Linked DNA regions of Homo sapiens: regions 2 and 3 are each linked to region 1. Evidence: promoter capture Hi-C in 16 types of primary human blood cells and fetal thymus (Javierre and others, 2016). All regions are on one chromosome and are shown on one strand. Each heading gives the region's core, a stretch centred on a gene start or on the middle of the fragment in contact. The rest is flanking DNA. Distances are from core to core; before and after follow the strand shown.

Region 1 (2,726 bases), core at 133-2,632:
CATACAATGATGCCTAGTAAGTAAGTTTCTTCCTTTCATCATCTATGCTAAGAATACACAACTAAAATCAGAGCTAATGACAATACAATTACTAGGTAGTAGCAACTGGAATATTAAATTCTATCATGACAACACCAGAAACACTTGTACAAGCTTCTTCAAATGATCAATGTAATCTGTCCACAAAAATCTCTGACAAGCCCCAAAGTAGAAATGAAAGACGTTAACATTAGGATAAGGAGCGATGCTGCCAAAACACATCAACAGTGGCCAGTCTACGTGTATTATTAGATTTTTACATGGAGTTGCAGGTAAATAAAAGATGATTGTGTAAAATCTTCTGGAGGTCATAAGTAATCTAGCAGTGTGACACAGGGCCACATATGGTTTCTGGAATTTTAGAGATTAAGTCGACCTTCACGTTTTACTGCAAATACCTCCACTGTAATAAGATATAGAGGTCGGGGTTCAGGGGTTTGGAAAGGCAGACAACTCTTTTTCATTAAAGCAGTGAAAAATCTGAGAAGTTCCTCTCCAAGGGCTCTGCGGAGCGAAGGCCCATTCCCTTGGCTACCCTGTACCACCAGAGCTTTAGATGGCACTTGCACGCCTGGATTTCGTTTAGGAGCGAATACATCTAGCATCATGCGCCAGAGGTTCGGGAGAGCAAAAACCAAACTGACAGATCCTGAGAAATAGCTCAGTCATCAGCAGGGAAGACCTTCTCCACTTACTCCAAGGTCCTGGACATCCCGGGACTAAGAGGTTCTCTAAAGAAGCCTAGCAAGGCTTCCAAGTACGCGGAGAGGAGAACGAACAGCCCGGTGTCTGGGTTCAATGTCCGGGTGACCAACCATGAGAAGGTGTCCCAAATAACCTGGCTACCGCCAGCGTGAGACATCCAGGGTGAGACATCCAGTCAGCAGCGTCCTAAAACACTGCTGGAAGTCGGAATCACAGTGCCCCAGATCCGCAATGCCTAAGTGGGAGAGCTCCGGAAGACGCCAAGCTCTGAGGACAGCCTCAGGCTTCGGTCCCCAATTCCCTGAGTTAGTTTACCTACCCGCTCCGACCCCGGCTGCTCCGGATCTCAGGATCCTGGAAGCTGCTCCTTACGGACTCTCACACCCGCCGCTGGGCTCCAGACAACCGGAACCCGCTCACGTCACTTCCGGTCCGGTCCCTCTGCCCCCTGAGACAGCCTCCAGAAGGGATACGTTCCTCCCTCCTTTCGGCGAGCTCGGTTGATCCTCGCGGGATTTCAGTTAGGCTCTTAGTGCGGGCCCTGTGGGTGTGGCAAGAGGAAGAATGACTGCTCGCTTTGTGATTCTTGATCCGGAACTTGTCACCCAGGAACCCCGGAAGAGGTAGCTCACGCGATAGAAACGTGTTCGCTGCCCAGAAGAAGGGAAGGCGCGAGTGAGGAAAGGAGGTACTGTAGGTAGGTTGGTTGGCTCCTTACAGGGCGAAGGAGACCAATATCATTATTCATTTTCTCGCCAGTAGGAACGTTTCTTTTCACCTCGTTGCATTACCCACCTTCTTCATTTTCTCCTTTATAAACTGTCTTCCGCCCAGGGGCCGCTGAGCCCTCTGTTCCTGTTCTGCGAACCGTCCTTTGGAGGAAAGGAACAGGCTGCTGGGGAGGGGAAGACTCAGAATTTCTAGTTCCCAGCAAAGCCTCCAGGCAGGCAGTATCGATGCGCTCTCTCCGAAATTGATAAAATAGCGAGCAGGCCTCATACCCTCAGCTGGGCACTTATGAATATCCCCAGCGTTTCGAGCTGTCGAGCTCTGCGTGGAAAGAATTGGTTTCTAAGAATATAGTCGAAAATTTGGGGCCGGGCGCGGTGGCTGACGCCTGTAATCCCAGCACTTTGGGAGGCTGATGTGGGCGGATCACCTGAGGTCAGAAGTTCGAGACCATCCTGGCCAACATGGCGAAAACCCATCTATACTAAAAATACAAAAATTAGCCGGCGTGGTGGCGCGTGCCTGTAATCCCAGCTACTCGGGAGGCTGAGGCAGGAGAATGACTTGAACTCGGGAGGCGGAGGTTGCAGTGAGCCGATATCGCTCCATTGCTCTCCAGCCTGGGCGACAGAGTGAGACTTCGTCTCAGAAAAAAAAAAAAAAGAAAGAAAAAATTTCCCCCCTTTTTCACACAAAGAGATTAACTAGAGAGGTATTAATCCTTACTGACATACCCCAGGCACCATACTAGACTCTGGGAATATGTTATACAGGGAAAGTGGGGCAGTGGCTTAAGGGTCAGAGAAGATTTGGGAAAGGTTTGTTTGTTTTTTTCGGTTGTAAACTGCAGACCCGGCGCGGTGGCTCAGCCTGTAATCCAACACTTTGGGAGGCTGAGACAGGAGGATTGCTTGAGCCCAGGAGTTTGAGAACAGCCTGGGCCACATAGGGGGCCACATAGTGAGACCCTGTCTCTTAAAAAAAGATTAACGGGTGGAGCATGGTGCAGAAGGAGGTAATGGGATCAAGAGCACTACTGAAATGGGTTTACTGAGGCAGGGGAATTAGAAGGCACCAAGAAGAAGATTTTATAGGATGTACTTATTTTGTTCTGCTGTCATTGCCCAGAATTATTTATGAGACAAAGAATGGTTATTTGTTTTACCTTAGTCTTAGGCACTAGGCTTATTGATACGCTTGTCGTAAGTGTACAGAAAAAGAGACAGACATGTTGTTTTAGAGGAGTTAGATGA
Region 2 (2,726 bases), core at 1-2,500, 820 kb before region 1:
AGGAGGAGGGAAGGAAGATGGCGGCCGTGGAACTAGAGTGGATCCCAGAGACTCTCTATAACACCGCCATCTCCGCTGTCGTGGACAACTACATCCGCTCCCGCCGAGACATCCGCTCCTTGCCCGAGAACATCCAGTTTGATGTTTACTACAAGGTATGCGCCGTGGGCCTCCTCTCTGCTCTCCTCCAGCAACCCCGGGGGCCGCACCCCCTTCCACGTCTGCGAACCCCCGCAGTTAACCCCTCACCCCTTCCGGCAGACTTGCCTCCCGAAACGTCTGGTGCGGTGTCTGCATTGCCAGTGGAGAAGCACCCCATCTCCCTATGCCCTGTCTCTTAAGCTTTGGGGCCTTGAAGTAATCTTGGGGAGTCTTGCTCCCTGTTGGTGTTCCCTTCTACACAGTGGCCCTCTTGGGTAGGCCTTTTGCGTGGACTTACTCTATCGCGCCCCTGTCCCACCTAGTCCTTTCCTTCTAGCCCGTATCTTCAGGATATTTTCCATCCTCTCCTTCCAATTAAGTGTCAGCATCAGCTGGACTTTTTTCCGTGCTCCTCCCCCCACCCATTCCTACTTTCTCATCTCGCCGCCTTCCTTCCCCGAGTGTTTTGGTGTTTTTGCTTCGTGTTCCTTCGTTTCTCCTTTCTTTTCCCAATTGGGAAGGAGTTAGGGATTATTGGAAATAATCTGTGTGTTTTATTTGCATATTCTTTAAAGCTTTGATTTTTTTGTGGGAGAGGAGGGGCTCTATACTTGAATTAGGGATTTTGTGAAAATGGGAGTGCTGATCAACTGTTTGAAGAGGACAGGGAGAGATCTTTACTGAAAGAAAAAAACACTTTAGATTATGTTCCTGTGTTTGAAAGTTGCAATCTTGCAGCATTCTTAAATCACTCCCCCTCAAAAATCTGAACAGCAAGTCTCCCAAGCCACTCTCCAAGGAGTTTCAAGGGTAAGTGTCCTTAGATGTGGACTATTTTTGCAGTGTTTTCAGAGTGTGGAGAACTTTATGGACTCAGAGCCTGCCCTTTTCTCTCCCCCACATTTGAATGTGAACACTGGATTTATTATTCAGTCTTCCTTGTCTTGAATCCGCGTCGATAACTCCTAGTGTCCAGTAGCCACCCATGCAAAATGTGACTAAAAGTAGAATGTAATTTATTTTTTAGACCTTAAATACTTCCTCTTGATCTGTAAGTTGGCTGGAACAGTGTAAACTGATATTTTAACAGATGTTTATGTTCTTACGTATGTACAGTGTTTTGTGGCAGTTGTTTTATTGGGAAGATTGCCTGCTTTCTCCACCCCTAGATTTTTTTTTTTTTTTTTTTTTTTTTTTCAGAATTAGCAGTTGATGGGCTGCGTTCTACTAAATCCAGCTGCTTTGCACCAATTCTAACAATTAAAGTGGGGTTTCCCCCCTAAATATTTGGAGAAGATTCATTTAGGTCATGCGTATTATTATTTTGGATTTCGAGAAAAAGCTCCCTTTTTTCCTAATCCCTTTGATACATTGATTTACTTTTGTGTATTCTAAGGAAATTTTGTTCATTTAAGATACATTCCTCCCCAGGAAGGACAAATTAGATTTGTCTTTCTCAGCCTGGGAAACTGCAGCTTTGTGTGTGCTCTCTGTCCATTTTATTAAATCATGTGTAATCTTGTACCTCATATGTAATCTCTCAGAGGAAATCATTGGGAATGTAATCCAAGTGTATTTACTAGTTGAATTCGTTCAAAATACTTGAATATCTTTTAGTAACTTTCACTTCTAATTGAAGCTTTTCATTTGAAGATTATTAGTATGAATAGATGGTGCTTTTGTTAGAATTTCTGTTTCACATAGTTCACACAGTTTTAATATTGCTCCTTTTTGGTACACTTTTACTTCTTAATAGTTGTATGCTTATTGGGAGTATGGCACTGTGCTAAGATGAGGGAAGTGTTAAACATGTGCCTGTAACTATGTTGTGCTTTTATGTGTTATTTTGTTTAATCTTCAGAATTAAACTGTGAAGTAGAGTACAGTATAACCTTGCTTTATTGGTGAGAAAGTTAAGTAATTTAATTAAGGTCTCAAACCTGATATTTAGTTCCTGAGTTCCTTGCTCTTTTACTTAGATATCTATCTTAAGATAGTAGATTATTTTAATGAAAGATATTATAACACTAATTTTTTTATTAGCTTCTATGGAAGTGGAGTGAAAGTCAGTCCCAGGACTCTATTCTAATCTTTAATGGAGATGTAAGAAGAAATTATTCTTTTTATTAAAATTTAAAAAAAATAGAGATGGGGTCTCGCTGTTTTGCCCAAGCTGGTCTTGAACTCCTGGGCTCAAGCTATCCTCCTGCCTCAGCCTACTGAGTAGCTGAGACTACAGGCATATGCCACCGCACCTGACTTTTCTTCCTTTTAAACACTATTAGCATATACATATAAGAAACTTTTTTTGTGGAGACAGGATCTTGCTCTGTTGCCCAGGCTGGAGTGCAGTTGTGATCATAGCTCACCGCAACCTTGAACCCCTGGGCTTAAGCAGTCTTTCCATCTCAGCCTCCTGAGTAGCTGGAACTACAGGTGTATGCCACCCATGCCTAGCTAATTTTTTTTTTTTTAATTTTTAGTATAGATGAGGTCTTGATATATTGCCCAGGCTGGAAAAACTTTTTAAAGCAATATAACTGCACACATAAATATAAGATACTCACCCCCTGCCCAACTTGTGA
Region 3 (2,726 bases), core at 111-2,610, 700 kb before region 1:
ATATTTACTGTAGTTTTCCATTTAATAGACCCCTGGTTGGATTTCACTTTTTTTTTCCTGTAGCAATGTTTTAATTTGGGCTTCATGTGCTCTAAAAATATCTTGTCAGGGTATCAAAATAACACTGCAGAATGGCAACCTCGGAACTTTAGAGCGTGTTTCTAAATAGTCTAATGATATGCAAGCGTCTGTGATCTTGTCAAAATTGCTGGGGCCTAATGATTTCCTCTTGGCTCTTTCTGGAAGGTTTTCTTTGCTAAGACAGAATTCAGGGAGATAAGCAGGAGAGAACTGAATGAATGTCAATGAATGTTGGAGCTGGGAATGATTTTGGAGAGGAAAAAAATGCATCTCAAATTTTGCAGCAATTTCTCCCCAAAGGACTCACTCTCACCACCTTTCTTCCAGGGCACCGTATTTGTACCCCACTCCCTCCCTTCAGGCCCAGATTTGGTGAGACTGGGGACTAATATTAGAGTTTTTCAGACAGAAAAATCACCTTGCCTTAGATCTTCAGAATCAGAATGTCCCAAGAGGGTCTGGAAATCACTATTTTTTTTTTTTTTTTTGAAACAGGGTATCACTCTGTCACCCAAGCTGGAGTGCAGTGGTGCAATCATAGCTCACTGAAGCCTTGACCTCTCAGACTCAGGTGATCTTCCTGCCTCAGCCACCTGCTCCCCCGCCCCACCGCCCCCATTCCCCACTAGTAGCTGGGACTACAGGTTCACATCACATACCCGGCCAATTTTTGTATTTTTTGTAGAGATGGGATTTCACCATGTTGCCCAGGCTGGTCTCAAACTCCTGGGCTCAAGCAATCTTCTCTGTCTTGGCCTCCCAAAGTGCTGGGATTATAGGCATGAGCCACCACACCTGGCTTGGGGATCAGTATTTTCATAAATATCCTAGGCAATTATCATCATCGGGCAAATTTGGAAAATACCGGTGTGGTGAGCTTGAATTCCAAGTTGGGCTTGTTGGGTCCAGTCAGGTAAATTACAGATTCTCTGATATTGTGCTAGAGCTGGCTCTAACAGGCTCATCAGAGCTGATTATTAAGTTTTTGCAATTTTGCCAGCTGTTTGCTAAACAGAAGCATTATTAAATATTAAATTATATTGAATGCAGGGACTCAAACAGATACTTATATACCAATGTTCACAGCAGCATTGTTCACAATAGCCAAAAAGTGGAAACAACCCAAGTGTCCATCAATAGATGAATGGATAAAAAAATGTGGTATATGCATGCAATAGAATATTATTCAACCACAGAAAGAATGAAATCCTCATATATACTACAACATAAATGAATCTTAAAAACTCTACTAAGTGAAATAAGCGAGACACAAATGAACAAATATATAATTCCACTTATATGAAATATCTAAAATAGGCAAATTCATAGAGACAGAAAGTAGAATAGGAGCTGTACATGGTGGTGCATGCCTGTAATCTCAGCTACTCTGGAGGCTGAGGTGGGAGGATCACTTGAGCCCATTAGTTTGAGACCAGCCAGGGGAACATAGTGAGACCTCTCTCTCTAAAACAAATAAATAAATACAAATTAAAATTAAATTTAAAAAATAGTGACAGACTCTCACTTTGTCACCGAGGCTAGAGTGTAATGGTACAATCACGGCTCAAACTGAAGCCTTGACTCCTGGGCTCAAGTGATCCTCCCACCTCAGCCTCCTGAGTAGCTGGGACTGCAGGCATGCACCACCATGGCTGGCTAATTATTTATTTATTTATTTATTTATTTATTTATTTATTTTTGAGACAGTTTTGCTTTTATTGCCCAGGCTGGAGTGCAATCGGGCAATCTCGGCTCACCGCAACCTCCACCTCCTGGGTTCAAGCGATTCTCCTGCCTCAGCCCCCAAATAGCTGGGATTACAGGCATGCACCATGCTCTGCTAATTTTGTATTTTTAGCAGAGACAGGGTTTCTCCATGTTGGTCAGGCTGGTCTTGAACTCCCAACCTCAGGTGATCCGCCTGCCTCGGCCTCCCAAAGTGCTGAGATTACAGGTGTGAGCCACCGTGCCTGGCCTGGCTGGCTAACTTTAAAAACTTTTTTTTTTTTGTAGAGGTGAAGGTCTCATTATGTTGTCCAGGCTGGTCTCCTAAGTAGCTGGGACTACAGGCACGTGCCACCATGCCTGGCTAATTTTTGTATTTTTAGTAGAAACGGGGCTTCACCATGTTGGCTAGGATGGTCTCAATCTCTTGACCTTGTGATCCCCCCACCTCAGCCTCCCAAAGTGCTGAGATTATAGGCGTGAGCCACCGCACCCAGCCGACAGTTTCTATTTCTAACCTATGTTATGTGCTTTTGACTCTTGTGATTTATATAGCATTATATAGTATAGACTGCATTTGTTTTTGTTTGCTCTTGCTTCTCTAGTTCTTTCTTTCTTTATTTATTTTTTGAGACAGTGTTTCACTCTGTGGCCCAGGCTGGCGTGCAGTGGTGCAATCTCGGCTCACTGCAAGCTCCGCCTCCCAGGTTCACACCATTCTCCTGCCTCAGCCTCCTGAGTAGCTGGGACTACAGGTGCCTGCCACCACGCCCAGCTAATTTTTTGTATTTTTAGTAGAGACAGGGTTTCACCGTGTTAGCCAAGATGGTCTCAATCTCCTGACCTTGTGATCTGCCCGCCTCAGCCTCCCAAAGTGCTGGGATTACAGGCATGAGCCACCGCGCCCACCGAGGCTAGGG

The links. The method cuts DNA at HindIII sites, captures the fragments that hold promoters and counts their contacts. A CHiCAGO score of 5 or more calls a contact.
Region 2: a contact is called between a fragment that was not itself captured here and the fragment with the promoter of PTRH2 in region 1, in 2 of 17 cell types (fetal thymus and total B cells). The highest score is 6.7, in fetal thymus.
Region 3: a fragment that was not itself captured here is called in contact with the fragment with the promoter of PTRH2 in region 1 in 1 of 17 cell types (neutrophils); the score reaches 5.6 in neutrophils.

Annotation. Positions count from the first base shown.
Region 1 is chr17:59,706,086-59,708,811 of GRCh38, reverse strand. PTRH2 (peptidyl-tRNA hydrolase 2) reads left to right here and starts at 1,382. Exons shown (of 2, transcript NM_016077.5): 1 at 1,382-1,441. VMP1 (vacuole membrane protein 1) reads right to left here and starts at 1,158. Exons shown (of 12, transcript NM_030938.5): 1 at 1,064-1,158. RefSeq lists enhancers at 1,053-1,112, 913-1,568. The HindIII fragment of the contact is 5,892 bases long and covers 156-2,726 here.
Region 2 is chr17:60,523,223-60,525,948 of GRCh38, reverse strand. It overlaps APPBP2 (amyloid beta precursor protein binding protein 2), which reads left to right. Exons shown (of 13, transcript NM_006380.5): 1 at 1-155. The coding sequence starts at 18. Among named protein-coding and RNA genes, the nearest start is that of APPBP2, 1.7 kb to the left of the region's middle. RefSeq lists a silencer at 1-17 and enhancers at 98-367, 88-796. The HindIII fragment of the contact is 1,064 bases long and covers 719-1,782 here.
Region 3 is chr17:60,410,378-60,413,103 of GRCh38, reverse strand. The region is part of intron 2 of LOC105371850 (a long non-coding RNA gene); the gene reads left to right. It also overlaps a transcript of USP32 not described here. Among named protein-coding and RNA genes, the nearest start is that of CHCT1, 11 kb to the left of the region's middle. The HindIII fragment of the contact is 3,591 bases long and covers 1-2,726 here.